Linked DNA regions of Homo sapiens: regions 1, 2 and 3 are each linked to region 4. The links are contacts of gene promoters, found by promoter capture Hi-C in blood cells and fetal thymus (Javierre and others, 2016). All regions are on one chromosome and are shown on one strand. Each heading gives the region's core, a stretch centred on a gene start or on the middle of the fragment in contact. The rest is flanking DNA. Distances are from core to core; before and after follow the strand shown.

Region 1 (5,363 bases), core at 989-3,488, 54 kb before region 4:
CACTCATGTCTATTTTAAGATTCAGTTATTTGGGATATTATACACAACAACACACTTGATTTCTTAAGTATCAGGGTAAGATCTTTCAATGATTTCCTTAAAATAGTCAACTATTGTTTATAGAATGCTGACTATACTGGGCACCTAGTAAAAATTATCTCTAAATTTTTAAAAACTGACGAAGCCCCTGTCATAGCTGCACTGTTATCCCCATTTGGGGTAGTATCCAGCACTAGGGTACTCACTGCACAGCGCAGCCTGGAGCTGAACCCAGGTATGTGGCTCCAATGACTCCCCTCTTCCATATCATGACTCCTAAACATAGACTCTGGTTTCTATCATTAGGTGACCCTGCAGAGCCGTTTCTCAGATAACATTTGAAGTACAATATAGTATGGCAATGATGTGGTTTGTTTTGGCTCAGCAACCCCACCCAAATCTCATCTCGAATTGTAATCCCCAAGTGCTGAGAAGGGGCCTGGTGGTAGGTGACTGGATCATGGGGGCAGCTTTTCCCATGCTGTTCTCTTGATAGTGAGGGAGTTCTCATGAGATCTGATGGTTTTAAAAATGGCAGTTTTTCCTGTGTTCTTCTCTCTCCAGCTGCCATGTTAAGACGTGCCTTGCTTCCCCTTTGCCTTCTGTCATGACTGTAAGTTTCCTGAGGCCTCCTCAGCTATACAGGACTGTGAGTCAATTAAACCTCTTTTGTTTATAAATTACCTGGTCTCAGGTAATATCTTTTTAGCAGCGTGAAAACGGAGTAATACAGGCACACATCACAAAGTACTGCTACATGATGTGGTCTGAAGACAGGCAGCATCGACATCTCCCAGGAGCTGGTCAGAAACAGAGCCTCAGGCTCCAGCTCAGACCTCCCAAATCAGAACCTGCACTTTAACCAGATTCCAGGGGATTCACACGCATGGTAGAACTTAGAAGCAATGTCTTAGAACATGATGTCAATTCCCTCCAGTTCTTGCTTCTTTTTCTGCTCCTGCATGAGTCACATACAACCCACCCCATCAGTCACACCTCGCATTTAATGAAAGGAAGTAACTGGGCATCTCTAATGGGAAGGTGGGCATTTTTAGTGTGTTAAGTCTACCCATTTTCCTTAATTCTACTGCCTGTAATATTCAGATACAGAATTCTGGATACCCAGGAAGACCTCATTATGTACTTTGCTACAGTAACTTGATAACTTTCCATTTAGTAATTCCAGATCGTAGTAGCCTCTCCACAATATTTCTATGTTTTTTTAAACTCCAAAAAAGAGAAAACAAAACACCTCTGATGATTCTAAGCTACCCTTCTACCTCTCTACCTTGCTGACTCATTTTCATTGAACAGAAAGAACAAACAAATGCCATCCTTCAATTAACAGCCCTGTCTTTTCTCTCCTGGGCCTCTCTGAATTTCTCTGGAAGTCCCCAGGGTATCCCCAGATGAAGCCAGCCTGACAACTGGATCAGCATCACTGCAGTCACAGGTGACACCAACGTCAGCACAGTGCACACTGCTTCATGGAAAACAGATTTTATAGATTAAGTTATGAAGGAAAAGCTTTGAGTTACCCAGGTCCAATGACAGCATTGCTCTTAGTGTGCAGAACTCTAGAAAAAAACAGTCAAATGTACATTTTCTAGGCTTCAAAATACTTTTGTGATTTCAAAGACCTCTTGAAGCTAAATTTTGTTCCAGATCCATGCAACACTTATTGCTGCCTACTGAGTGGCAATCCCACACTGGGCAGCTGGGACACAAAGATGATTAAGATGGGGTTTCCTTTATCAAGAAGCTGGTGGTTCACGAGACCTTCAGAGATCTTAGCAGGTGATTTACCATGTACACTGGACAGCTCAGCTCCATGGAGGAGCTTCCAGAGGGGTGGTGGGGAAAGGTCTGTGATGAAGCATGAGAATGGCTAAGTGCCTTCCAGGGAGATGGAGAGAAGAAGCCATGTGTCAAATGGCAAAGAAACTGAACAAAAAAGAAGAGGCATTGTGGGGGAATACCAGAACCCAGCCTCGTTCTGCAGGGAGGGTGTGGCAATACAACAGAGATGTGGCTATAAAGGTGGCCTGGTACACTGTCAAGATCAAAAGTTTATGCTTCATCAGGTGGACAGTGGTTTTTAGAAGATTCAGGGACATAACCAAGGGTGTTTTTTGGAGCAGGATAGGAGGGAGCAGGGGGAGGAGGGAGGGGCAGTGAGTGAAGGAAGAATTCACAATAACCCCAGGTATGAATGAGGATAACCTACACATTTCCCACCACTGTCACACACTGTAACATTTCGAGCCATGTGGCCATAGGAGACTTCCACAAAATAAACAGAAAATAAACAGAAATATAAAAGTGCCCCCTAGCTTGGTGTGAGGTGTGCTTGGAATAAAGGCTGCTATGGTGTGGCATATCTTTGTCCCTGGCTCACTGAAAGACACTTGGCACGCAGACAGGAAACTCCAAACTCACTGTCAGTCATATCAGTGACTCACAGAAAAATACGGGCACGTTAGCAGGTAAAAGATACAATGTTCCAGCCGGGCGCGGTGGCTCACGCCTGTAATCCCAGTACTTTGGGAGGCCTAGGCGGGCGGACCACGAGGTCAGGAGATCGAGACCATCCTGGCTAACACGGTGAAACCCCGTCTGTACTAAAAATACGAAACAAAAAATTAGCCAGGCATGGTGGCAGGCGCCTGTAGTCCCAGCTACTCGGGAGGCTGAGGTGGGAGAATGGCATGAACCCGGGAGGCGGAGCTTACAGTGAGGTGAGATGGCGCCATTGCACTCCAGCCTGGGCGACAGAGTGAGACTCTGTCTCAAAAAAAAAAAAAAAAAAGAAAGATACAATGTTTCATACAAAATATAAGAGGAAAAACAGGCAGATTAAAGGCAAATATAAAAGCTTTCCTCAAAGAATTAGAGTTGAAAAGTATTGGAATAGGTTTCTAAATCCAACTAGCAATCTGCAGGTTCTCAGCACCAGGCCAGGTCCTCATAAGTGGGAACTCGGTTAGGAGGTGCCCACCTGCATGGACTGCTGCAGGGTGAGCTGGAGAACCCACGCCGTCCCACCAAATACTTCAGAGTTCTTTTCTAAAGAAGTTGTGACTTACAAGGTGATTGCTGATGTTTTTCATTTTTTCCACAACACTCTTCATAGTCTTCAAGACTGGTAAATAAATACTAACCTACAAAACCAATGAGAAAAAAGCACAAGTATTAAAAATATTAATATACTCTAGTAATGACAAGGGCCCCATAACTAACTCTAGAACACATGCATGCTCAAAAACTATGGGATACTATTTTACAATTTTCTGAATAAAGTTCTTTTAAAAATATAAAAAGAAAACCAATTCTATTTCACTAACTCAAGGATGCTCAAGCAAAATTAAAGAATGGAATGCCTGCCTCTGGTTACCTCAGCAACCATGTCCCTGTGGGCATTCTTTTGGCTCAAGAAGGAATAGGGTACTTCAGCTGAGATGCCCCTATATTGGTCCAGGGGGAATATAACTCAGGCAATCAGCAGGAGGCCCTCCTCTAAGGGACATTTACACCTATGATTCAAGGGCCTTTTCCATGCTCTGTACAAAAACATGGCAGACAGTCACTGCATCACATCTGAGACTGTTACCAAGAGTGCTCTATAAAACACAGGCTTTTTCAAAATCAGTGTAGGTGCCATCTAGTAAAAGTCAAGTAATTATTTTACCCAGCATATTTCTGTACTTTCTTCTTAAACAAATTGTGAGCAAGAGGAAATGGGCCCTTTGGCATCATCTTTACTTTCAGGAGCTCTAGGGTTAACCATCGGCATGACCGTTACCCCATGTTAGCCCTAAGCCATGAAATTCTTCTCTTCTTGGCTTTCGTGCACATCCAGATATCGCTCCTGACCGGCTGAGGAAAAGATCAAGTCCTGTGAAACCCAAATTGGTGTCTAAGGCCAAGAATACTAATAAATACTAATTGTCCTCCAAAAGTATCATTTGTGTTTTAAGTGATGTTACTGAGCGAGACATTTTCTACATATAGGATGGCATGACATTTCTATCATATGCAACATTTTTAAGATGCTTTATGTAAATAACAAAAGGCAAATAATCTAATGTTTTCGTTAAGTATCCTTTAAAAATAAAATATACTGCAAGACTACAACTAAAACTAGAGAATTCAAGTCATGCCATTTAATGTGGGGTGTACAGCAGGACTGCAGGCATCACCTACATCAGGATCTGGGACCACCGGTTCTTGTAAGTCCTTCCACAATTTCCTAGGAATCACCTTTATGGGGATGTCATGGGTCACAATGCGGCTACTGCTTGACATAGATAACTGCCAAGAAAAGAATTTAAAAATATTTTTATGTTGTTAATATTAAGCAACAACAAAACAAACCCGAAGACCCGGGACAAAAAAGTTGAAATACCAAATCTAAGTGGAATGCTGTCAGTTTATTCACTCAAAAGCCATTCGACCAATATTGATGGTGCCAATATTTATGGAACAGACTCTGGGTACTTCCAGGAACTGGGAAGTGTGGTGATAAGACAAAAAGGTCCTTAGTGTTCCAGTGGAACAAACAGATCAATAAAAATGCAAACAAATGAAACTGTATGAAATGCTCATTATAGCCGTGAGAAAGCACTCCACAGAGACCAGGGTGAGTGTGGGGGAGTTTCCTTAGACTGAGGAGGTGACATTTCAGATACCACCAAAAGCAGGAGAAGCAGCAGCCATGGGAAGACAAGAACAAGGGGACAGGGTTTCAGGCTGGGGAAACAGCACATGTAAAGCCGTGAGGCAGAAAGAAGCAAGCCTGCTATGTTGACGCAACCAAGAGAAGGCCATTCTTTGGGCATAGGACACTCAGAGTGCTGCAGTTTCTAACAGTTAAAAGGCAAACTATATTTATTTCTAGGGGCTCCTATGAGACTCACAGACCAAAATATCTTGCACTTTTGGACAAAAAGTATTATACGTTACTATCTTGCTTTTCCTTAAGCAATAGAAAAAACATACCAAACTTATACTGTGACATGAAATGCCCTAATTAGCTCTGAGAACTGCCTGACTGCAAAGAGTTGAGAGTTATGAAGAAAAGCTGGGCTGGGCGCCGTGGCTCATGCCTACAATCGCAGCACTTTGGGAGGCCGAGGTAGGTGGATCACTTGACGTCAGGAGTTCGAGACCAGCCTGGCCAATATGGTGATACCCCGACTCTACTAAAAAAATACAAAAATTAGCTGGGTGTGGTGGTGGGTGCCTGTAATTCCAGCTACTCAGGAGGCTGAGGCATGAGAATCGCTTGAACCCGGGAGATGGAGGTTGCAGTGAGCCGAGATCGC
Region 2 (5,486 bases), core at 2,912-5,411, 56 kb after region 4:
TTTCACCAGTCGAAGTTTAATAATTTCAAGATATACTGAAAACAAAGGCAAGAAACACTTAAAATGATAACAATTCTCAAACTCAAAGTACTGTTTGTAGACATCAGATCTAATGAGGTCACATCACATTAAAATGTTATTAAATAATTAGCTGTACAGGCAATATTCTAAGTACTTTACAAATATCAACTGTTTTAATCTTCTTAAGAACCCTGGGGGAGAGGCACTAATATTAATACCATTTACAAATGAAAACACAGAGACAGAGAGATTAAGTTAATTTACCAGCTGTCACACAGCTAATAATAAATGACGAAAGTAAGACTCAAATTCAGCAATCAATGGTTTGATCCCCTGCACTTTGCTGCATCTCGGAGTGACTTCTGAGGCTCCTGTAGCCAGAAAGGGGCAAAGCAAGGTATAGAACAGAGATTTGACTTCCATTGTCTCATGCTCTTTCCATAAAATCATCTGGTCAGTTCAAATGTTCAACTAGTGTTAGAAAGACTAAGAAATTCTATGTGGTGGACTAGTCAATTGTCACAAGCAAAAACAGCAAAAGAAATATAAAGTATTCCTGAAATCACAACTTTATGTGATATGATTAAACTATGATATACATTTAAATACCAACAACAGAATTCACAAACTAACATATAGAATAATTTTAAGTGAAGTGGCTCATTTTGGGTTAACCCCTTGCAATCAGCTCACGTGATGTGAAAAAACAATATAACCACAACCCAAATTAAACCAAAGAAGAGCTTTCACTGATATGAAGCATTGTTTTTGTTAAGCCGCACTACAGCAACCATACCCACACAAACAGAACTGACATATACTAAAGACTTTACCAATAATTAGCAATGAAAATATTCATGATGTCTTCCAGCAATTTAAAGATACATCTTCTAAGACAAACAATAATAATCAGTGTATGTGCAGCTTTTAAATAGTGATTTCATCTTTATGAAAGTTATAACCTCAACCTTTTAATGTTGTGTTTTAAAAAAATCATACATTTACACTTCCCTACCAATGAAATTTGACTTTTTAAAGACTATAGTTAAAATTTCTATGCTATTTACAAGGTAGGATAATAGTTTGACATTCAGTTAATCAAAAATATTATGTGTTCTCAAGCATCTGTAAATTTAGAATATTATAGGCTGAACATATTTGTAGAGAATTCAAACTACCATTATTTTATTAAGAACATTAAGTGAAACTTGAAACTTAACACATGATAGATCTTTACTTGTATCACTTAACTTATACTGAGTATTTTAGCAATTACATTTTTATTTCCAGCAGGTAATCAAGAATACAGATTTTCGTGGCATTGGTGGTAGAGTGGTGATCATAGCTGCCTTCTAAAAATGCTGATTTTTATTTATCTTATAAATGCGCAAAACGTTTTGGAGAAACAAAAGCAAATTTGAAGTGAGTAAAACTTAACAGTTAACACCAGGTTACATAGCTGGTTAATGGCAGTCCTTGAAATACCTAGCTCAAATCTCAAAATCAAACAATTGCATGGGGTAAGAAATAGAAAGCTTTCTACTCCTTTGTTCTGTTTGTTATGCTGCTTCCCATGCCCAGAAAACATGCAGGGAACCAAGATAATGCATTCCCAGAGCTGCCTCATCAGAAAAATGAAAAAGCTTTACCTTGTCTTCAAAATGGCTGGTAACAGTACAGCCCCAATTTATTCATTTTTCCTTATGCTTGTTCTCTCCCCTACCAGGTACACCTAAATACTGCCTCTTTTTTAAAAAAATTAAAAATCTGCAATCCTTTTAATCCTAGGAGCTATACTAGTTTAGAAGTTTAAAATAAAGATGTAATGAGGAATTTGGTGTCCTAACACCATGAGTCATAGTGATACAATAGCAATATCACCTTTACTATGAAGAATACCTGAGACCAAGCCTAGGTAAAGGAAATTGCAGGCCTGTATTGAACATGCAAGTTTCAGGCTATGGTTTAATTAGTGAGTCAATTTTCTGTCTCCAGTACATTGGCACACCCAAACCTTAAAGATATGTCACACTCATTACCTAGCTGGAAATCAAGACAACTGTAGGACAAAACTAAGCTGACAGTCACTAGAAAAGTGATGATGTCTGATCACCAGTGACACCTCATTTTCCAGACCACATTCTCCTACCTAGGGGTACAAATGGGATAGAGTGAGACGAGGGAGCAAATAGCTTTACCTGGCATGTGAGATAGCAAGCATAAGGAAACAATGATAGATTAAAACTATACTCTTACCAGCCATTGTGAAAGCAAGGCAGCAGACTTCATTTTTCTAACGAGGTGGCTCCAAGAATGCCTCATCCTAGCTCTCTGCGTGTTTTCTAAACATAAGCAGCAGAATAACAAACAGAACAATGAACCAGAAAAGCCTTCTTTTTTTTTAAATTTTATTACTATGATACTTTAAGTTTTAGGGTACATGTGCACAACATGCAGGCTTGTTACATTTGTATACATGGGGCACTGAGTAGTTCTATATGATGAGTGAGAGTTGGTGGGAAGAATCTCGCTTTTTGTATTTTGGCAAGAATTTGCTAATTTGAATACATTTTTCCCTGACCTCAACCATCCTGCAGAACCATATTATTCCCCTGCGTAGACGAGGAGGCTGGCTCAGATGGTTTTTGGTAACTTGCCCAGTCATCAGCTAGGGTGCGGCATGGCCAATGACCCCTGTGTCAAATCTCATGAGGAAAATATCTCCATGGGTCATATGGCATGCTGAGTCCAGTTCAGAAATGAACCCTTATTATTCCTGGGTGGAATTTGTGAAGAATTTCAGTCTGAGATAGTGGTTTAGAGCAAAACCAGTCAGGTAGAAGGCTTCTTGGAAAACTGGAGAGCAAATGGAGCTGTGTGGCAGCAAGGCATGAGACAAGGGTGTTTCCTAGATTAGATGGTTCCAGAGGCCCTGAATGAGAAATACCACATCCTGCCAGCACCACCTCTCCTAAAGGTGAAGACTGAGAGGGCAAGAACCAGTCAGCCATTGGCATCCGTTGGGTAGCTGGCTGTGACTCCTAAGTGTTTTGTATAAATATCTCATGGCCTGTATCTTTTCTGTAAACATGGATATGCCTGTGAAGCCTCTGGGCAGCTGGAATCCTGTGGGAATCCTCCACTTCCTTGGAGGCTAGCCATTGACTGTGAGGACTAAGCTCTGACGTTTTTTTTTATCTTGCCAATTCTTATCTAAGGGGTCTGGGGAGTCATGCCCTATAAACAATGAATTCTCATGAGATGGGTTTTATTTAACCCTATATATCGTGACTTACTTTCCAACCTGACTCTGGCATAACATTACGAGACAGGGAAGAAAATAAAAATATTTTATCCCAAAACATGTTTCTTTGCCATATCTTGAAATGGCCCTGCAAAGCTGTCCTTTGTGGGGGAAATTTGCATCTGTAAAAAATCTCTATTAACATAGCTAGAGCTTTTTCTTCCAGGCTCTCCCAATTTTAAAGAGATTAACTGGCCGGGCACGGTGGCTCACGCCTGCAATCCCAGCACTTTGGGAGGCCGAGGCAGGTGGATCACAAGGTCAGGAGATCGAGACCATCCTGGCTAACATGGTGAAACCCTGTCCCTACTGAAAATACAAAAATTAGCTGGGTGTGGTGGCGGGCGCCTGTAGTCCCAGCTACTCGGGAGGCTGAGGCAGGAGAATGGCATGAACCTGGGAGGCGGAGCTTTCAGTGAGCCGAGATCGCGCCACTGCACTCCAGCCTGGGTGAGAGTGTGAGACTCCATCTCAAAAAAAAAAAAAAAAAAAAGAGATTAACTAAGTGTCTAGCACCTTTTATTAAAGATCTGAATAGGAAACATTTGTCATCTATTGTCTCTAAGGGCAGCCACTATAAGACTTCAAATACCCTGGGTCTCCACAATCTTTTATCTTAACCTGGACATTTCCTTTCTATCAATCCAGGTCTTTAGACAAACTCAACCAATTGTAAACCAGAAAATGTCTAAATTTACCTATAGCCTTGAACCCTGCCCCCTACCCCGCTTTGAGTTGTCCTGCCTTTCTGGACCAAACCAATGTATTTCTTAAATGTATTTGATTGCTGTCTCATGCATTCCTAAAACATATAAAACCAAGCTGCACCCTGACCGCCTTGGGCACGTGTCCTCAGAACCTCCTGAGGGCCGTTTGCTGTGTCACGGGCCATGGTCATTCACATTTGGCTTAGGATAAATCTCTTCAAATATTTTACAGAGTTTGACTCTCTTTGTTGACTACTAGGACCAGCAACCTGGGAAAGTGATGGCTCATCAGACTGGACTCAGCTGCCAGGGGAGTGGGCCTGCCACTGTGAGCCTATCTGAGCTGGGGGTGGGTCAGGGGACTGAGTAGCTCTATATGATGAGTGAGAGTTGGCGGGAAGAATCTCACTTTTTGTATTTTGGCAAGAATTTGAAATCTCAGGGGTCTGAGTCATGCTGTAGTCTCACCACAGGCCTCAGGGGAGTCAACTTCTGACCTGGAGGCCTGGTCTGGGTTTGTGGTGTCTGAGTCATAGTTCGTGTGATAAAAGTACGTGCTCTGGTGTGGAAAGCAGGCAGAGGCTTTTTCACTCCATTCTGTCTCACTGACAATGAAAATGCTAGCTGTGACCCACCACATGGGTTTCATGACCCACGAATGGACCAGGCAGCTGTTTAGAAAACACTGCGGCTCAATTTCTGCCCTCTCTGAGGGGTGTTCTAGAAATCTGTATGGCTGCTGGATTGGAAAGAAAAGAGCAATTGCATGAGGAATTGGGAAGTGAGGACAAACAGAGAAGAAGCCTCAGCTACTATCTCTAAAATATTATCTGAGAAAGAAAACAAACAAACAAACAACAAACACATTTCTTTTCCTGAGGAAGGTGAGCCTTTAAATTATCAGGCCCAGAGAACATTTAGAACAGAACAGCAGTCATGGCTCACTTCCCCTTCAGCTAAGTGGTTACCTCTTGAAGCCACTTGCTATGTGGCTGTAGAATAACTGAGGCCAATTAGCCATAAGATGCCATCCACCCTATAGTTCAACACTGTGTGGGCAATCACTAACCAATGTTATTTCTGTAAACCAATGAGGATTCCTGACAACTCTGCAATCGCCCCATCTCCTGAGTTGTTCTTTTTTCTTTAAAAACTTGAGCCTCCTTTTTGTTCTTGGAGCACTCCCCATGGCAACTTAGAAGTGTGTCCTGGGCTACAGTCCTCAACCTGGGCACAAATAAACTCTCTATGTTAATTTTGTCTCATCTTTCTTTTAGGTAGACACATTAGCTTTGGGAGAATTTCAAAGAGTTTGAAGTTACTTAGATTTGGGAAACCTGAAGGGCAGTGGTGTGTCACTATCTGGTGTGGCCTGGCCTTCAGCCTCTCAGCCCCTTCCCTCCCCACCTCTCAGAGCTCAGGGCCAACTGCATCTCTGAAAGAGCCCAAAGACC
Region 3 (5,590 bases), core at 637-3,136, 39 kb after region 4:
AAGTGACCAGTTGGTCAAAGAAGACATCACAGGGAAATTAGGAAATAGTTTGAGATGAATGAAACAAAAGCACAGTATATAAAAACTTATGGAGGCCAGGCTCAGTGGCTCACGCCTTAATCCCAGCACTTTGGGAAGCCGAAGTGGGTGGATCACCTGAGATCAGGAGTTCAAGGCGAGCCTGGCCAACATGGTAAAATCCCTACTAAGAATACAAAAATCAGCTGGGCAGGGCAGTGCATGCCTGTAATACCAACTACTGCAGAGGCTGAGGCAAGAGAATCGCTTGAACCCAGGAGGCGGAGGTTGCAGTGAGCCGAGATTGCACCACTGCACTCCAACCTGGGCGACAGAATGAGACTCCGTCTCAAAAAAACAGAAAACAAAAACAAAAACCAAAAAAACACTTATGGGATGCAGTGAAAGCAATGGTCAGAAATTATAAATTTAGACAATTTAGAAATTTTCATTATAAGTTTAGAAATTTATAATTCCTGACCACTGCTATCACTGCATCCCATAAGTTTTTTTAAAGTTTTTATATGTTGTACTTTTTTAATGTAAACAAATACATGAAAAAAGAATAAAGATCTCAAATCTGTAACCTATCTTTACATTTTGAGGAACTATAATAAGAACAAACTGAACCCAAAGTTAGCAGAAGGAAGGGAATGATCAAGATTAAAGCAGAAGTCAACAAAACAGAGAATAGGAAAAAATACACACTCAATGAAACCAAAGTTGGTTCTGTGAACAGATTAACAAAACTGACAAACTGTTAGCTAGAATGATGAAGAAAGAAAGAGAGAAAACTCATATTACCAAAAAAAGAAATAAAAGTAAAGACATTGCTACCAACATTAAAGAAATTAAAAAGGATTATAACACTATGAACAACTGTACTCCAATAGAATTAGATAACCAAGATGAATGGACAAATTCTTAGAACACTCATATTACAAAAAGTGACTCAAGAAGAAATAAGAAAATATGAACAGATCTATAAAAATTAAAGATACTGACCCAGTAATCAAAAACCTCCCAATAATGGAAGTAGTTTTCACTAATTACCAGTTATGAACAACAATCTTTCTCCAGCTCTTCTAAAAATCGTAAAGGAAGGAATACTTCCTAACTCATGAGGCCAGCATTACTTTGATCCCAAAGTCAGATAAAGGACATTGCAAAAAAAGAAAATTACTATCCAATATTCCTTATGAATATAGATGCAAAAATATTTAACAAAATACTGTCAAACTGAATCCACTAGCATATTAAAAGAATTAAATGTCATGACCAAGTGGGATGTATCCTAAGAATGCAAGGCTGGCTAAATTAATCAATCACATTGAGGGAATGAAAGGAAAAAAAAACCATAATCATCTAAATTCATCCAGAAATGTATGTATAGCATACACCCACAATATATCCAATATCATGTTAAATACTCAACACACCAGGAATTGAAGGGCACTTCCTTACCCTGATAAAGGACAGTTATGAAAAACCTGCAGCTAATATCAAAATCAATGATGAAAGGCTGAAGGCTTTCCCTCTAAGATCAAGAACCAGATAAAAATGCCTGCTTTTGGCTGGGTGCTATGACTCATGCCTGTAATCCTAGCACTTTGGGAGGCTGAGGCAAGTGGGTTGCCTGAGCTCAGGAGTTTGAAACCAGCCTGGGCAACACGGTGAAACCCGTCCCTACTAAAAATATTAAAAAATTAGCCAGGTGTGGTGGCTGGGTGCCTGTAGTCCCAGCTACTTGGGAGGCTGAGGCAGGAGAATTGCTTGAACTCGGGAGGTGGAGGTTGCAGTAAGATGAGATCGCGCCACTGCACTCCAGCCTGGGGACAGAGCGAGATTGCATCTCAAAAAAAAAGAAAAAAAAAAAAAGCCTGCTTTTGTCACTTCTATTTCAACAATGCACTGCAATTAGGGAAGGAAAAAAAAAGGCATACCAGCTGGAAATACAGAAATAAGTAGAATTATCTCTATTTCCAAATGGTTCTACAGTTTGAGTGTTGGTGTCTCCCTACTTCAAATTCCCAATTAAGATAGTATTTAGAGGTGGGGACTTCAGGAAGTCATTAGGTCATGAGGGCAGAGTCCTCATAAATGAGATTAGTGCCCTTATAGAAGAGGCTTGAGAGAACCTGTTTGCCGCTACTGCCATTTGAAGATGAAGAAAGAAGCCACCATATTTGAAGCAGACAGTGACTCTTCCACCAGACACTGAATCTGCTGGCCCCTTGATCTTGGACTTCCCAACTTCCAGAATAGTGAGCAATAAATTTCTGTTGTTTATTAATTAAGAAGTTTAAGGTATTTTGTTATAGCAGCAGGAACAAACTGAGACAGATGGAATGATCTTATACAGTGCAGTATACAGAAAATCCTAAAGAATACACACACACACACACACACCCCTATTATATGGCCTATGGCCAATAAATGAATTCAGCAAAGTTGCAGCATACAAAATCAATGCACAAAAATCAGTTGCATTTCTATACTTCAACAATGCATAATCTGAAAAGGAAATTAAGAAAACATTTCCATTTTCAATAGTATCAAAAAGAATAAAATACTTAGAAATAAATTTAAATAAGGAGGAGACTTGTACACTAAAAACTACAAAACATTATTAAAAGAAATTGAAGAATACAGAGTAAATCCAGAGACATCTGTGGTCATGGATTGGAAGACTTAATATTAAGATGGCAACACTCCTCCAAACAATCTACACACTTAATGCTATACTAATGGAGGCAGAGTGGTACTGGCATAAGGAGAGACATATACACCAATGGCATAGAACTGAGCTTCCAGAAATAACATCATATGCCTACAGTCAGTTGATTTTAAACAAGGGTGTCAAAACCATTCATGGTGAAAGAACAGTCTGAAGTTCTAACCCTTTAACTGTATCTTGGTTTTTCCTAATCCTGAAGCTAATCTAGGGGCTCCTAACCAAAAAAGGCATCTCATTATCGTATAAATGACACTCTTTTTCACTCTGGAGATTCCACAGGTTTTAGGAGTTGTGTGCCAAAAACCAAAGACAAAACCCGAGTAACTTTTAAAAATTATAACACAGTATATCTGGAAAACCCTAAAAAATAAATAACAAAACTAACTCAGACTATAAGATAAACCAATGTTATTGGCATATATGATCAATATGCAGAAATCTGCAATATAAATTTTTTAATTGACAAATACAATCGTATATATTTATGGTATGCAACATAATGCAAGTTTTGTATACACAAACAATGACCATTTAGATGATAAAATAGTAGAGAAAATTCCATTTATGGTAACAAAAAAGGAGACTAAATATTTGGGAATAAATTTATCAACAAGTAAAATCTACATGAGAAAAAATTTTAAAACACTCCAGAAGACATAAAAGTAGTCTTGAACTAGACATCCCTTGCTTTAGCCAGGATAGCAACATTATAAGGATGCCAGTTAATTTATAAATTTAACACAATCCCAATAAAAATATGAATAACCCTTTTGAAGTCAATACTAAAATCCCTACAGAGGTCAGGCTTGGTGGCTCACGCCTATAATCCCAGCACTTTGGGAGGCCAAGGCGGGCGGATCACCTAAGGTCAGGAGTTCAAGACCAGCCTGATTAACATGATGAAACCCTGTCTCTACTAAAAGTACAAAAATTAGCCAGGCATAGTGGCAGGTGCCTGTAATCCCAGCTACTCAGGAGGCTGAGGCAGGAGAATGACTTGAACCTGGAAGGAGGTTGCAGTGAGCAGAGATTGTGCCATTGCACTCCAGCCTGGGCGAGAGAGTGAGACTCCCTGTCAAAAAAAAAAAAAAAAAAAAAAATCCCTACAGAAAAGAAAATATGCAAGAATAGAATGAAAACAGTTAAAAAGGAAAATCTACAAGGGAGACTAGGCCAACTAAAAAGTAAAACATACCAAAAAGCCTTCATAATAAAACAGTGTGGTTCTGGCACATGAATGACAAACAGGTCAGTGGAAAAGATGAAAAAATAATACAACTACAGACATAGGTAAATACGTGTATAATGAAGGTGGCATCGCATAATGACCGAGAAAATAAAGTTTTTAATACATGGGACAAGTATACAGCCATTTCGATAGAAAAAAAGAGAAAAAGAGAAAATTAGATCCATACCTCACACCATACACAAGCAATACTCAGCATGGACACTGAGAAGCACGTCGTCAGTTATGTGGTGCCAGGCTACAGCTGCAAGCTCCTCATCTCTCAGTCAAGTGGGAAGGACAACAGCGTTGCTAGGTCTTCTTCCAGTTCTGAGAAAAGGGAGTCAAAATTCATGAAACCTGACAGTTGGGTCTCCGCCATCCCAGTCTAAATGCCCTGGTGAGAGTTTAATCTGTACATGATGGCGACCACGAGTTAAGACACCAGGTGCCATCTGGAGTGTGAGCTACCTGCAGCTCTTCAAGGGAAAATAGGATTCAGATCCACTTTTTAGATAAAATAGTGGTTCTCAGAGCATGTTCCCAAGGGTGCTTGGGAATACCCAAGACCTGTTCAGGAGTCTGCTAGGTCAGAACAATTTTCATAATAATTTAAAAACTGTATTTATCTCTTTCTCTTATTTTCTCCCTATATTCAACAGTGTTTACTGTACTATATGACATATGATTCTATTTCAGATTAAATGCAGAAGCAGACCTGAGAATTTAACTGTCTCTATTAAGCTGGATAGTGAAGGAATTGGCAAAAATGTAGAATTATGCCACTCCTCACACTTTTTTTTGTTTTGTAAAGATATAGTTATGTTTCATATACATGTCATTTATACTAATATAATGGGTTAATTATTGTTACTTTAAAATAAATTAATAAGTAAATAGGCTAAATATATTAGTTTTAATTTCTAATATAATAAACATCAATAGCTAAATACCTACATACACATTTCTTTGAAGTCTTCAGTGATTTTTAAGAGTGTAAAGGGGTCCTGAAACCAAAATGTTGGAGGTCTGCTGAGTTACAGCAACTCAGAGAGGTTAAGTGACTTCCCTGCTATCACATAGCATGTGTCAGACAGATGCCTGTCCACCTCTGGACCTTTATGCGCTTTCCTTTCTTGTTTTACTGTGTTCCAGCCTTTGCATTACCCCATACGATACACGCAAATTGGATGCCACCTTTTGAAAACCCTTACTTAAAGAATTTTATTTTCATTTGGTGCAGTATTTGTGCTTTGCCAGTGGAGTATAAAACACTTAATCTTTCCACTCACTCAGACCTGGGGCTGAAGTAGTTTACAGGACAAGGACACCAAGATCTCCACTTAGGATGTTACCTAGAAAGGCTTTCTGATATCTCAAGGTTGTGCAAGGGAAAGCTAACACCATCATTTCTTTTGAGATAGACCTGCTTTGGGCAGCCAACTGCCATGGGGTGAGGTGGTGTGGGACACAGAAGGCAACAGGGGAGAAATAAGCAGAAAAGAATAAATGTCCAAACTGCTTGGCAATGCACAGTGTATATTACATAGCATACAATGCACAGTGTATATTACAATGCACAGTGTATATTACAGTGCACAGTGTATATT
Region 4 (5,911 bases), core at 3,362-5,861:
AAAAAAGGAAAAAAATGATAGTGGAAATGTAGAGAAATTGGACTTCTTGTTTTAATCCATTTGTGTTGCTGTAAAGGAATATCTGAGGTTGGGTAATTTATAAAGAAAAGAGGTTTATTTGGCTCACAGTTCTATAGGCTGTACAAGAAGCATGGCACCAGCATCTACAACTGGTGAGGGTCTCCAGCTGCTTCCGCTCATGGTGGAAGGCAAAGGAGGAGCCAGCATGTGCAGAGATCACATGGTGAGAGAGGGAGCAAGAGAGAGCTGGGAGAAGTCAGGTTCTTTTTAACAATTAGCTCCCACAGGAACTAATAGAGTGACAACTCATTACTGTAAGGATGGAACCAAGTGATTCATGAGGAATCTGTCCTCATGACCCAAATGCCTTCCATTAGGCCCCCACCTGCAACACTGGGGTTCAAATTTCAACATGAGGTTTGGGAGGACAGATATCCAAACTATAGCAGTCCTCCTACACTGCTTGTGGGAATGTAAAATAGTGCAGCCATTGAGGAAAACAGTCTGGTGGTTCCTCCCCAGAAATCTCATTCCTATGTATATACTTGAAAGAATTGAGAACAGGTGTTCAAATAAGCACACATACACACTTATGCACAGCATCACTATTCACAATAGCCTAAAGATAAAAGCACTCTAAATGTCCATGAATAGATAAATGGATAAACAAAATGAGGTATATACATACAATGAAATATTATTTAGCTACAAAAAGGAATGAGGAACTGACACATGATAGGATATGGATGAACCTTAAAAACATTATGCTAAGTGAAAGAAGGCAGATAAGAAAGATCACATGCTATATGATCTTTTTTGTAACAATAACTGGGTTGAAACTTTTATTTTAATGGGAGATACATGCCTTAAGTTGTGAATATATTAAAGAACAATTTTCCAGTGTGCTAGGGGTGGTGGATGGTGATATTTCCCGATACGAAACTACAAACTGCACATTCTGCAGTAATTTATTTGGGAACTGTGTGATGAGCAAGAGTCTCTGGTTGTCAAAACCTCCCAAGTGGAGTCACCTAAATTTAGAAAAGGTAAAATGTATGTTTGCAATAAATATATTAGAAATTCTTAACTTTAAAGCAACATCTATGACTAAAAAATTTGCAAAAAGCAAACCACAATTCTAAAAGAAAAATCTCCTTTCTAAATTTTCTATTAAAAAGCCAGTATTACTCTTACAATCAGAAATAAAAAACAAACGAAAAAGCTTTGAGAATGTGCAGGTCACCTCCAGCACTTTCCGTGGCATTTATTTACAAATATGAGTCATTCCGTTGAGATCTCTCTCACCAGGCAGACATAACCTGTGGAATGGTTTTAAGGATCATTACTTAGGAAGACTTACCTACAAGAAGAAAAGTCAGTGTAAGCATTGTACTTAGAATAATCTTCCATGATCGAGTTACCCTAAAAGAATAAAAACAATGATTAGAAAAAGAATTTAACAACATCATGCATTTAACTTGGACTTTAGCCACTACACTCACGTCAACAAACTTACTTATTTTCATTCTTGCTTAATCTAGGTTGAGTCTATGAATTACTTTAATTTCCAATCCACTATTTTTTAAATTGAGAGAAGATCGTTTTAGTGATGATACACACTCACCAGCATATATGAGTGCGCATACATAGAGTCATGCCTCTTACTTTCACATATGCAATGCTTATGCTAGTATATGTCTATTTATATTCTTAAAATACTTATAAGAAAAAAACAAAGGCAGTTTTCTGGAGGTCTCAAATGTAGAACTAGCTACAAAAAAAGAAAAAAAAGAAAAATCAGGTTCTGATTTTATGGAAATTTTGTACTAAGCTAAAGAACTATGACAGTTAAGAAATATCTGATAAAATTCTTTAAAGCCACCATGACCTTTTTTCCTACTCTGTGTTGAAGTACAGTATGCTATACAAATACGATTTGTGCTCTTTTCTGTATAATTGTACAGACCAGTGATGCCTCACAGAATGAACACATCCATGAAACCTCACCCAGGACTGGAAATTGAGCATACTCAGTTCTGTGGACTGAATTGCACCCCACCCCCCAACACACACACACACACACACACACACACACATTCATTTGTTGAAGCCCTACCATCATTGTTACTGTATTTAGAGATAGGGTCTTTAATTGCTAATTAAGGGTAAAAGAGGTTATGAGTGGGACTCTAAACTAGCAGGATTGTTGTCCTTAGAAGAGGTGGAAGAGAGACCAGAACTTTTTCTCTCTTTGTGCAGTCAGAAGAAAGGTCACATGGGGACACAGTGAGAAGGCAATCCAGGAAGAGAGCCCTCGCTAGAGACCAAATCAGCTGGAACCTTGGACTTCCCAGCCTCCAAAACTGTTAAAAAAAGTAAATTTCTGTTGTTTCAGCCACCCAGTCTGTGGTATTTATTATTGCAGCCCGAGCAGATGAATATACCAAGCCCATCAGAAGCCCATCTTATGCCCTTATCAACCCTATACCTCCCACCTCCAAAGGTACCTGCTCTCCTGAGCTCTATCCCCATTAAGTAGGTTTGTCTGGGTTTGAACCATCTATAAATGGACCCATGTGGGTATGGGCTCTATCTGTCTGCCTCCTGTTCCCAGTCTTAAGTCTGTGAGAGTCAACTGTGCTGTTGTGTATAGTTGTGGTTCATTCATTCTTATAACTGTGTAGTATTTCATTGTGTGAATATATCATGTGGGTATCCATCCTAACATTGATGGGTGTTTGGGGCTATGATAAACAATGCAGTTATAAATATTACTACAAGCAATGCAGCTATGAACATTCTTGTACATGGTTTCTGATGAAGACAAGTATGTATTTCATTTAAGTGTATTTTCAAGAGAGACATTGATGGGTCATAGGATACATGCATAATCCGTTGCAGTAGATTTTGCTCAGTGTTACAAAGTGGTTGTAATGACAACCTTTTCACATCTAACCTTTTAAAAAGCCCTAAAGGGTGGATGGGGAGGGAAGCTAAAATGATCACATTAATCTAACGTGAAGGCTATAAACTTCCGGATAAAGTATTACAAGTTGGCAAACTAAAAATTTCTACTTAAAACATAAGAAAAATCACATTAAGATGGACCATTCATTAACTGTATTCACTAGAGTGGGCCGCCTAATTCTCCCAGTACAGAATCTTTAAGTAGCTTATCTACCCTACATAAAGCAGTCATACCTATTAGCCATCCAAGAGTGTGACAGTGTGGAAACCAACTAAGAAGAGAATTTTCTTAACTCTCTTCCCCTCCAGGGAAGTGTATTCTGGAACCTCTTCCTTTTAACTATTATTGGAGATGTGGAGAGTGGTAGGGGGTCCACTGTATTAAAAAAGTTGTTCATAGGTCAGTTATGGTCTACAAGAGCTCTTTTGGTGGGCTGCATTAAGTGAAAATTATCACATTACCATATTTACCAAAGATTAACTCCAGTGTTTTTCGTTTTTTGTTTTTCACTAGAAAACTGGCTGCCAGGCTCTGCATTGCAAAATTCCTTCGGTGCCTTCACCCAGCCAGTGGGATTCTGCCATTTGGGGCAAGCATATTTTGTTATTACTGTGATTTTGAAATGCTGCTCTACTTGTACTAATAACTTTGTAGCATTCCTTTTATTTTTATTGACAGTTTTGTTCTGTGCAAGTGCTTCATTGTTACCAATAGGAAGGTTATTTCATTACTTGTAGTTTTTGTTTTCCCAGCAGGCAGCACATGGGCAGGGCGTTTGTAAATAGGTTTAGGGTATTTGGATTCCCTGCTATAATAATCCCCACATATGTTCTCACTAGAGGAAACAGGGTGATTCACTCAAAATGTGCATCCCCTACCAGAGTCTTTAGTCAATTATCACCCAAGAATGTAATAAATGCCACTCTGTGCCCAGAGTCCTGAGCCCGGTGCTAAGCTCTGCATACCACCAAGACTATACAAGCTAGCCCAATGACAAAAAAAAAAAAAAAAAAAAAAAAAAAAAGTGAATTATCTGGAAGCTTTTAAGTTCCTGCTGCTGTGGCTCATTCTTTTAAAGAGGGTGGCTCTCCTTTCTTAATCCTTCTCCCAAGTCTGCTGTTATTAATCCAGATACCGTTGACATAGAAGTATTGTGATCAAGTGTAAGACTGTGATGAAGAGAAACCTTCAAAGGAAACTATTGAAAATGATTTTCTCTATAAAGGGAGAAAATACTGTCGGGTAACAGGTAACAGATGAACAGACACAAGTGACAGATGTAACACATAAAACCTACAATTTCAGGCACACCGTTCTGCCATGTTTACCTACCCATTCGCATCAGGATTTTCGTCCTCTGATAACAAAGCATTGCCACTGGCGCTACCGCTGGCGTCTTCAGAGCAACGTCTAAAAAACATGGCAGCCCTTCTTGCCTTTGTTTTTCCACTCATGATCCCCTACCAAAGAACAAACAGCTGGTAGGATGAAGAGCAACATTTGTCCTCATTCCTATTTTATGAAAAACATGAAGCTATACATACAGTTTCTAAATTTGTTTTGTATAATGTCTTCTTCCTCCACGGGTGTTTCTTCTTGAAGACGGAATTTTGAAAAGCTTCTGATTCTTCTGTTGCATCATCCTCCGTGACACCTCATAATGCAGATGGCCACCACGCCCAGCCAGGGCATGGACAGGCAACCACCTCTCTGCTTCAAGGGCCTAATTGTACCATATGTCACACCCACTGAATAATACAAAGGCCCCCCCATGTACCTACCGCTTTTCGATAGCAAATCTGGATGTTTTGCTGTGTTTGCTTCAGTGCTTTTCTAATAAAGAAAATATCAGAAATATAATAGTAGACCCCCAAGTATCCCTGAATCTCAGCACTCTTATTTTCCACAGATAACTACAACCTGAAAATTGATATACTCTATTCTCATTATTTTTGATACTTTACTATGTAAATCTGTATCTATAAATAATACCATTTTCATGCTTAAAACATAAACTAAATGTTATGCCACTCTAGGTTTTCTTACAATATTATTTATCTTGAGACATTAACTCCACTCATTTTAATTGCTCTATGGTATTTCATTATACATACATCACAATTCATTTACCCATCCTTCTGTAAATGTATGCTTAGGTTGTTTTCAGTTTTTTTGGCAAGGAATAATGCTCATTGCACGTTGTTATATGCACATCACAAGGTTTTTCTAAACATACACCTAGAAACAGAATAGTTAGGTGGAAGGATGAGCTGGTTTATTTGGGGCATAAATTCTACGATGACAGTCATTTCACTCTCAGCACTTTGGAGATACTACTCCATGGCCTTGTGGATTGATTGTTGTTGATGAGAATTCTGTCTTATCTTCATTTCTCTGTTTTTTTTGGCAATTTCTCGCGTAGTTTTTAAGATTTTCTGTTTATCCATATTTTCCAGTTGTATTTTAGTGTATCCAGGTTTGATACTAGTTTTTGTTTTTCCTCACTTATAACTCAGAGAGTCTTTTCAATTTGGGTACTTGTGTGTTTTTTCAGTTCTGGACTATTTTTCAGCCATCAGGGCTTCAAATATTGCTTCTCTGCCACTGCCTCAATTTTCTTAGAATGGTCCACCTATTGACACTTGTGTCTCCCTTTTGCTTTCCGTTCAACTGCTCCTTCATATTTGTTTTTGCTTTTTTCTCTTTTTACTTATGCTGATTTCTGGGTGAATTTGTAAGTGTTATTTTTCAATTTACTACTTATTTTCTGAAAGCTTAGATTTATACCAAGAAACCCCCAAGTTTCTACTTTTTTACCTACTAGTCCAAAATTCGAAAGTTACAAAATGGTACACAGCAAATATGGCCTTTCCACCCGGCATCTGCCTTCTAGCTATTGGTTCCCCTCTCTTTTAGCATCTA

What was found. Contacts are between HindIII fragments. The CHiCAGO score rates a contact against its expected background, and 5 or more counts as called.
Region 1: a contact is called between a fragment that was not itself captured here and the fragment with the promoter of SUN3 in region 4, in 1 of 17 cell types (activated CD4 T cells). The highest score is 5.2, in activated CD4 T cells.
Region 2: a fragment that was not itself captured here is called in contact with the fragment with the promoter of SUN3 in region 4 in 6 of 17 cell types (total CD8 T cells, total CD4 T cells, activated CD4 T cells and 3 more); the score reaches 8.2 in total CD8 T cells.
Region 3: a fragment that was not itself captured here is called in contact with the fragment with the promoter of SUN3 in region 4 in 3 of 17 cell types (total CD8 T cells, activated CD4 T cells and non-activated CD4 T cells); the score reaches 6.3 in total CD8 T cells.

What each region holds. Positions count from the first base shown.
Region 1 is chr7:47,972,488-47,977,850 of GRCh38, forward strand. It overlaps HUS1 (HUS1 checkpoint clamp component), which reads right to left. Exons shown (of 8, transcript NM_004507.4): 4 at 4,243-4,350; 5 at 3,126-3,200. Among named protein-coding and RNA genes, the nearest start is that of HUS1, 4.4 kb to the right of the region's middle. The HindIII fragment of the contact is 1,348 bases long and covers 1,565-2,912 here.
Region 2 is chr7:48,080,604-48,086,089 of GRCh38, forward strand. No RefSeq gene overlaps it. Among named protein-coding and RNA genes, the nearest start is that of UPP1, 5.9 kb to the right of the region's middle. The HindIII fragment of the contact is 4,999 bases long and covers 1,663-5,486 here.
Region 3 is chr7:48,066,093-48,071,682 of GRCh38, forward strand. No RefSeq gene overlaps it. Among named protein-coding and RNA genes, the nearest start is that of UPP1, 20 kb to the right of the region's middle. The HindIII fragment of the contact is 9,280 bases long and covers 1-5,590 here.
Region 4 is chr7:48,024,496-48,030,406 of GRCh38, forward strand. SUN3 (Sad1 and UNC84 domain containing 3) reads right to left here and starts at 4,612. Exons shown (of 10, transcript NM_001030019.2): 1 at 4,322-4,612; 2 at 1,382-1,443. The coding sequence starts at 4,443. RefSeq lists an enhancer at 3,803-5,002. The HindIII fragment of the contact is 1,156 bases long and covers 4,606-5,761 here.